3 separate regions of the Homo sapiens genome follow, and all the other regions are linked to region 2. Evidence: promoter capture Hi-C in 16 types of primary human blood cells and fetal thymus (Javierre and others, 2016). All regions are on one chromosome and are shown on one strand. The core of a region is centred on a gene start or on the middle of the fragment in contact, and the rest is flanking DNA. Distances in the headings are between cores, read along the strand shown. Region 1 has its middle 71 kb from the start of MTPN. Region 2 holds the start of SLC13A4 (solute carrier family 13 member 4). Region 3 has its middle 51 kb from the start of MTPN.

Region 1 (2,743 bases), core at 58-2,557, 320 kb before region 2:
CCCATTGGTCAGATTAATCTTTTTAAAACATGCCTCCTAGAGCATGCCATCACACTGTTTAAATCATTAGAGGCCAAGGTGAGAGGATCACTTGAGCCCAGGAGTTCAAAACCAGCCTGGGCAAAATGGAGAGATCCTATCTCTACCAAATAAAAAATACATTAAAAATTAGCCAGTTGTGGTGGCATGTACCTTTAGTCCCAGATACTGAGGAGGCTGAGGCAGGAGGATTGTTTGAACCCAGGAAGTTGAGGCTGCAGAGAGCATTGATCATGCCACTGCACTCCAGCCTGGGTGACACAGTAAGACCCAGTCTCTAAAAGGAAAGAGAAAAATTAAATTGTTAGAGGTTCTCTCTTGACTTTGAGAGAGTGTTCAGGCTCTTCAGATGGATCTGCCAAAATATGGCATCAACCTAGCTCACCATCGTTATCTCTCACTATTCAATGAAGGCTGGGAGCTTCCACTCCTCCCAAACAGACCATGGAGATGCCTACACTCACACTGTGGGTTCAGCCAGCTTCCCACCAGGAACGCTCCCCAACTTCCCCAACGCTCCTCCTATTGTCTCGGTCAGAGGTCGAAGTGATGCAATTGCTGTATCTGAAGATAAGGGGGCAACAAGCCAAGGAATGCAGGTGGCCTCTAGATACTGGAAAGGGCAAGGAACCAGAATCTCCCCGAGAGCCTCCCAGAGGAACTTAACCCTGCTGACATTCTGAGGTCAGCCCTGGAAAACTCGTCTCAGACTTCTGAGCCTTGGGGCTTCCTTTCTTTCCTCTCTTGTAGCATTTATTATGTGTACTGATAATCTAACACACAGTACTCTCTATCTTAGATCATTATTACTTTGTGTACACATTCTTCTCCCCTACAAGATTTTAAACTTCTAAGTGGAAGAATCAAGTTTTATGTCTCTTTCTCTCTTCAAGCACACTTAGGCCACTCTAAATATTTCATTTGTCTGCCTAAAACCTTCACTAGTTTCCTAATGCCTTCCAAATTAGGTACAAACACTTAACATTCTGAGTCTTCTGCAATTTGAAACCTAAATATTTTTGTTTTCTCTCTTACCTTGTTGCACTGTCGTGTTCCCCAAATTATCCTGAACTTTCCTGTCACCATGCTTCTGCTGATGCCATTGTCTTCATCAATGTCTGTGCTCCCAACATGGAGGCCACTAGCCACATGCAGCTAATGAGTCCTACAAATTGGGCTTCTTCAAATTGAGATGCACTGTTAAGTGTAAGGTCATACCAAACTTCAAAGACTTCACACAGGAACAAAAAGCATGTAACATACCTCAATAATTCATTTATATCCCTTACATATCAAAATGATAATATTCTCGATATTCAGAATTAAATAAAATATATTATTAAAAGTAATCTCAGGCTGGGTGCCTGTAATCCCAGCACTTTGGGAGGCCAAGGCAGGTGGATCACTTGAGGTCAGAAGTTTGAGACCAGCCTAGCCAACATGGTAAAACCCCATTTATACTAAAAATACAAAAATTAGCTGGGCATGGTGGCGGGCGCCTGTAATCCCAGCTACTCCAGAGGCTGAGGCAGGAGAACTGTTTGAACCTGAGAGCTGGAGGTTTCAGTGAACCAAGATCACGCCATTGCACTCCAGCCTGGGCAACAGAGTAAGACTCTGTGTCAAAACAAAATAAAATAAAATAAAATAAATTTCACCTTTTTTTCTTCTTTAATGTATCTACTAGAAATGTTTACATTATATTTGGTTTATATTATATTTCTACTGGATATAGCTAGTCTAGAAGGTTCTCTTCCCACCACCTCTCCTAAACTAAATCTGATCTTCACCCCTTCAAGTTTTACCCAGCCTCTAGTCTCAAATGAAATACTGTTTGCACAGATCCATTCCTGATTCTTGATCCTCATTTCCAGGTGTGATTTGTTCTCTTCTGAACGCTACCCATGACTAACAGCATTTTATTTCTACCTATTTAAGAGGTAGAAATCAAGCCGTATGCTGCTTTGAATTAACAGGTTACAGCGGATTTTTCTTCACATCCTTTTCATTGACTAGCACAGTTCACTATATGTAGCTGTCCCTCAGTATGTGGAAGGGATTGGTTCCTGGACATCCCCATACCAAAATCTGGATATGCTCAAGTCCCTCATACAAAATAAAATAGTGTTTGCATATAACTTAGGCACATCTCCCATATACTTTAAATGATCTCTAGATTACTTATAATATTTAATATAATGTAAATGCCATGTCAATAGTAGTTATATTGCATAGCTTAAGGAATCATGATGAGAAAAAAGTCTGTATATATTCAGTACAAATGCTTTTTAAAAACTATTTTCAATCTGCAGTCAGTTAAATCCATGGACGCAGAACCCACAGATGATGCAGGACCGATTGTACAGTAGTAGCTATCCATATTGAACACTGTGGTAGGCGGAATAATGGCCCCCAAAATGCTCACAGCTTAATCTTCAGAACCAAGGTGAATAGGTTACCTTACATGGCAAGGGGGAATTAAGGTTGCAAATAAAATAAAGGTTGCTAGTCAACAGACCTGCAAATAAGGAGATTACCCTGGATTATTCAGGTGGCACATCATAATCAAAAGGATCTGCTATGGTTGCAGTGTTTTTGTCCCCTCAAAATTTATGTTGAAACGTAATCACCAGCACAACTGTCTTAAGAAGTGGGGCCCTTGGGAGGTGATTAGACCCTGAGGGCTCTATCCTCAAGGATGGAA
Region 2 (2,700 bases), core at 2-2,501:
AATCATAACCAAAAAAAAATGAGGCCAGAATGTAGTAAATACAGTAGCCAGTCTTTAACATGCATTTAAAGAGTTGAGTCATCCTAGCCCATCCTACGATGGCAAGATAATTTCAAAGGGGACCTCAGCTGTCCACAGTTGCACCTGCCTTAAAAGTCAAGAAGAATTTGTTTTTTGGGTCACTTCCCTGGTCACTTTAGCCTGGGGATCATTTCCAAGTAGTATAGTTGCAGATCTTCGAACGCCATTCCTGTGTTCTGTGAATTCAAGACAACATGGGTTTTATAACCCTTTGACTCTGCTCAGCATCTCCCAGATCAAGGTAAGGTAATGTTGCCAAGAACCACTACTTACAGAATGTTTGGGCTTTTGCTTTTGCTTTTCTTCCTTGCCCCAAATCCACATGTCCGTTCTGAGAAAAGAAGCTAACAACTTCTTCCAATCTGTAAACAGGAGAAATTCCAGAGTTCAACTGCAGCTAAGACCTTGTCCCTGAACTTGTCAACTTCTTCCCTGCCCTCCCACCTCCTCCTTTCGTACCAGCCAAAGAAGGTCTTCGGTTTCCTTTTTGGAGAGCCCCAGAGAGAAGCATTTGAGCACCTACTTTAGCCAGAGAGACCACTGACATCTGGGCATGAGACTGGCATCTAGACTTTGCCAGGGAGGCAGCTATACTTCCCAAAAGATCTGGGGTCTTTCTCACGAGCTCATACCCTCTGCTGGCCTAGACCCTTTATATTCCCCCCTCGGTGCTGAGGCAAACGATCTTTGCCAGCAGGGAGGTCTGAAAGGCTTAACTTTGTACACTCTGAGGCAAATTCTCCAGAAGTAATGTTGCATTTTCTCCCTGCCACCAGGCACATTCCCTTCCCAAGGTCTAGATCAGCAGGTGGCCCTCCCAGCGAAAGCTCTGTGTCCTATGATCCGAAACAATAAAGCTGTGCTTGGGTACGTGAGATTATGTTTACGATGATGGTCATCACTCCAGCCCTAGGAAGTTTGAGAAACTGAAAAATAAGCTTAGCAGGCTGCCTAGGTTCTGCGGAATCAGCAGGCCCCCGCTGTGACCAATCAAGAGCGGCCGCGGGGAGAGAAATTGACTCATTCTTTTCAATTTGCTGATTGGCTTTGAGAAGTGGGCGGAGCTACTGTCTCTGTCCCGGCTTCCCATTGGTGGATGAAAGTTAAAGGTGGGCCTCCAGCAAGTTTTGTCCTTTGATAAAAAGGAATGTCTTGGGGACTTTTCTTTTCTGCTTTGCAGGCCCAGGCTCAAGGCAAATTATAAGTAGGGAACCAATTTGAGGGAAAGACATGTGAACAGAGTTAAGGTACCACGTCCTGGGAGCGACCAGCAGCCCCACCTGAAGTCCGCATGCAACTCTGACAAGCTCAGGTGCTTGTTTTAAGGAAAGGGGCTACTAGAGTCTTACCAACAGCGAGCCCAGGTGGGAGATGAAACAGGTACTCCCCAAAATAGGTCATCCGAGGGAGGAAAACTGATGGAGAGCACAATGTGCTCTGAGCGTTTTTAATGTTTTTAAGCTTTTAAATGATTTCTTCAAGGCCGAGCAGCAGCAGCAAAGGTGTGGCTTAAAGGATTAAGGGGGTTTCTGCTGACACCTAGAATGAAGTTACTCTATTACTAATCAAGCCGAGAGGAGGCCCACTATGCCCCCGTTTATCATCCTTTCCCAGTTCCTTTTTGCTGGTCACAAAACGATGCTCATCAATCCCACCTAAAGCAGGAGGCCAGGAGCCCAGCCTCTTGTAGAAACAGCGAGGGTATAACTGCCCTCCCGTTCTGCCCCCAAGACGAAGGAGGACTCTCGGAAGCCAAGAAAGGTTTAAGAAGTCTTTCTGGATAGAGAGCAGTGCCCAGGCAGGAAGCCTTTCGCCGGCAGAGCGGGGTCCAAGGACGAGCTGGAGAGGACAGAGGCGCGATGGGCCTGCTGCAGGGCCTGCTCCGAGTCCGGAAGCTGCTGCTGGTCGTCTGCGTCCCGCTCCTGCTGCTGCCTCTGCCCGTCCTCCACCCCAGCAGCGTGAGTACCGACCTGCGCCCACCGGGGGTCTGGGAGTCAGTGGGAGGGCAAAGAGGGGAGGTCGGTAGGGGAACATGGGGCGCTCAGGCAGTCCCTCAAAGTGGCTTGTGGTGGGTTTAAAGAAATGGAAGGATTTTTCCAGAGGAAACCAAGATATCTTCTTCCTAAAAGCTGTCATGTTCATCTCCTATCCCAGTCCCATTCCCCCAACCCCATGGCCCCCACCGGGGTCAGGACAGAGTAGGGGCCTTGGCAGAAGTGACTGATGGGTGTTGCACCAAGCAGCAGGCCAGCCTGCCCCAGCAGCGGGGGCCAGCGACACCCATGCAAACGACATGGTGCACCTGTGTTTGTCGGGAGTTCACCTGGGACCCTGGTTATCTGAGAGCCCCTGGAGACACAGAAAGAGCTCCCAATAGTGGCACTGAGGAGAAGGTTGGGGGAGGAAGAGAACCGTGGAGCCAATCCGTGGTCTGTGGTCGTGTCCTGGTGGGCTTCGATGACCACAGTTGAAGCTCTAATCCCGAAGGCGCCTATCAACTTCAGGGAATGAATGTTTAGGGAAGGAATGAAAGCAGAACTTAGCAGGCTGCCCTGCTCCCATGCACGTGGCCTTGAATTATTTGTGTCTTCTGTGTTTTCTTCTCTGTCCTCTTGAAGG
Region 3 (2,758 bases), core at 53-2,552, 300 kb before region 2:
ACTGTTTCCATCTGTCTTACCTTCCTAATGGTATCATGAGTTCTTTGAAGAAATAAACATTTTTTGGTGATAACCAAATACCTCATACAAAAATATTTGGTTATCACCAAAAAAAAAGAGAGCACTTCAATGATGGAAGGTATTATATAACATAACTATTAAGACTAGACAATCTCAGGGTGGAGGAAGACCTTCAGCTCTTATTTTGAGGGGTAAGGGGAACTGAATTCTCATGCTCTGGACCTAAATGTGCCCCCTCCATCAAAAATGTTTGGTTTGTCAAATTCATGGGTGGAGAATAAGGGAATTCCCCAAGGTGTGTATGAGCATTGCAGAATAATGGTTCTTAAGTGTGTAGGGCTCATGAATGGGCTTTAGCCAGTTCATTAACATGTACCCAAAACATGTTTGTGTGTGTAGATGCATTTTTCAATGCAATTATTACATAGCTTGGACTAGACACTCAAGGGAATCTATGACTTAAGATAAAATTAGGAACCCCTGCTGTTAGATAATCTTAGCATAACTACTGTTTTTCCCTAAAAATCATTGGAGAAAATGTTCTTCCATGAATTAAAGTGTCCAGAAAGAGCATTATACATGGGGTGAATATCACACTTTGTAAAACCAAAGAATAATAATAATTAAAAACAGAGAACTCAGAAAGAAGAGAAATGCCTTATACCCAGAGGCACAAAATAGTAATGTGCCCTCTGAAACAAACAATGACTAAAAGCCAACACATGCTTGTTTTAACACCTAGGTTTGAGATATATTAGAAAAAAAATGTCATAGTAATTAACCTTCTACCTCCCATCCATATTCACGGGGAGAAAAATAAACAAAAGTTTAGCAATTGCAAAACTCAGGGAGCCAGATATACCCAACTATTTCCTTCAAGAAAATTTTATCACTGCTTTCCATTCTACTCAAATGATCACAGTATAGCCTAGTACAGAAAGGAAAAGATCGCTGACCTACTGCTTTTATATAAACTAATTTCTTCATGTGTCTTATTCCTTTATAAAGCAAATTGAGCCAGGCACTGTAATAGGTGCTAGAGGTAGAAAAGACATCCCTAACATCAGGGAGTTTGCAATTTGAAAGAGAACAAGATAAGGAGGCAAAATTCAAATAAATAAAATGGTTTAAATGGTTATATGTTATGTTTAATGCTATTGTGGAGACAAACAAGATTCTTAAGTTTAGAATAGTCAAGGAAGATCTTTCTAAAGAAGTGTTACTTAAGCTAAGACAAAGATTGTTAAGAAGAGCTGTAGACATACATAGAATGAGAAAAAGATTCTACAGATGAGAAAAGAACATGTTCAAAGACTATGAAACAAGACAGAGCATGGAATTTTTGAGAAAGGAAAAAGAAGAATGGATGAAGTCCATCCACTAGGGAAAAGAAAGTTAAGACATATGATTGAAGAAGGGATGAGATTATGCAAATCCTAGAGATGATGGTTTAAACCTCAGACCTTGTTCTAGGTACAATGGCAAGTCCCTGGAGAGTTTTAAGCAGGCCTGGGGGTGACCTCATACAATTTCTGTTTTAAGCACATTACCTTTAATAATATGAGAAGAATAAATTAGTGTGGGAAGACTAAAAGATATTGATCTGGAATAAATGGTAGCAATGGAGTTCAAAAAAAGGGAGATTAGGGCATATTTAAGAAATACAACAAACATAATCTTCTGATAGATGAGACTTGTGCAAGAAGAGAAAGGAAGGAATCAAATATCATTCCTGGGATTCTTGGAGTAGCCAAGAGGATTGTGAGGCCATTTGCTGAGATTGAGATTTGTGGGAAGTGTTAACAATGCATTTTGAACTTATAAATTTTGCCATATCTGTGAGACACTCAGGTGGAAATGTCAAGTAGGCAGCTGGATCTGCAAGAATGGAGTTCTGATGAGGGATCAGGGCAGAAGGTATGTTTGGTAGTCTTTAACATTAGGACCAAATTTGTTTGGTATTTGAATCCATAGAATAGATGAAATCCATCTAGGGAGAAAAATCAGAAAAGGGAAAAGGGTCCGTAAGAGCTCCCCAGAAAACAATCATTTAGAGGATTAGTTGAGCAGGGGAAGCAGGCAAGGGAGTCTGAGCAGGGGGTGCTGGTGAAATAGGAGAAAGCCGGAGGCATGAGGAGCATTAAAAAAGGAGAATTCTTCAAGAAGTGGTCAAGTGGATTAGATGCTGCTAAAAACAATCACGTTAGATAAGAATAGAGAAATGTCTACTAGATTTAGCAAAATGAAAATCACTTTCTACCTTGACTTTGACAATGGTTTCAGCAAATTGGTGGTCACAGTGGAAGCCAACTATAATGGCTCAGGGAGGAGATGAAAAATGAAGAAGAAATTTCTATAATGGCTGCACAGACAACGGTTGAAGTCTGACCAGGAAAAAATGCAAAGAAATACTCCAGCCCGAAAGGTCAAGGAGTTGGTTCAAGTCCTTGCTTGTTTGCTCAGAGAGCCTAGAAAATGTTTGTGTGCAGCTGAGATGATCTGATTGAAAGGAAAAGATGACTAAAGCAGGAGGAAGAGAACATAAAGAAACAAAGTTCTCAATAAGGTGAGCTGGCATAGGATCCAGAGCACACAGGGAAGGGCTGACCTTTAACAGGATGGCAGTCAGTCTGGTCAGGCAGTCAGTCTGATCATGTGATATCTCACAGCTGACCCCCTTCCATGGGTTCCCAAATCAATAAAACTCTTTGTTATCTTGAGCAAATCAGTCTCTCTA

Evidence for each region. Contacts are between HindIII fragments. The CHiCAGO score rates a contact against its expected background, and 5 or more counts as called.
Region 1: a fragment that was not itself captured here is called in contact with the fragment with the promoter of SLC13A4 in region 2 in 1 of 17 cell types (neutrophils); the score reaches 6.3 in neutrophils.
Region 3: a contact is called between a fragment that was not itself captured here and the fragment with the promoter of SLC13A4 in region 2, in 1 of 17 cell types (neutrophils). The highest score is 7.2, in neutrophils.

Annotation. Positions count from the first base shown.
Region 1 is chr7:136,047,184-136,049,926 of GRCh38, reverse strand. It overlaps a transcript of LOC105375523 not described here. Among named protein-coding and RNA genes, the nearest start is that of MTPN, 71 kb to the right of the region's middle. The HindIII fragment of the contact is 2,958 bases long and covers 1-2,743 here.
Region 2 is chr7:135,726,737-135,729,436 of GRCh38, reverse strand. It overlaps SLC13A4 (solute carrier family 13 member 4), which reads left to right and starts at 1,251. Exons shown (of 16, transcript NM_001318192.2): 1 at 1,251-2,039. The coding sequence starts at 1,941. The HindIII fragment of the contact is 523 bases long and covers 1,022-1,544 here.
Region 3 is chr7:136,027,181-136,029,938 of GRCh38, reverse strand. It overlaps a transcript of LOC105375523 not described here. Among named protein-coding and RNA genes, the nearest start is that of MTPN, 51 kb to the right of the region's middle. The HindIII fragment of the contact is 5,093 bases long and covers 1-2,758 here.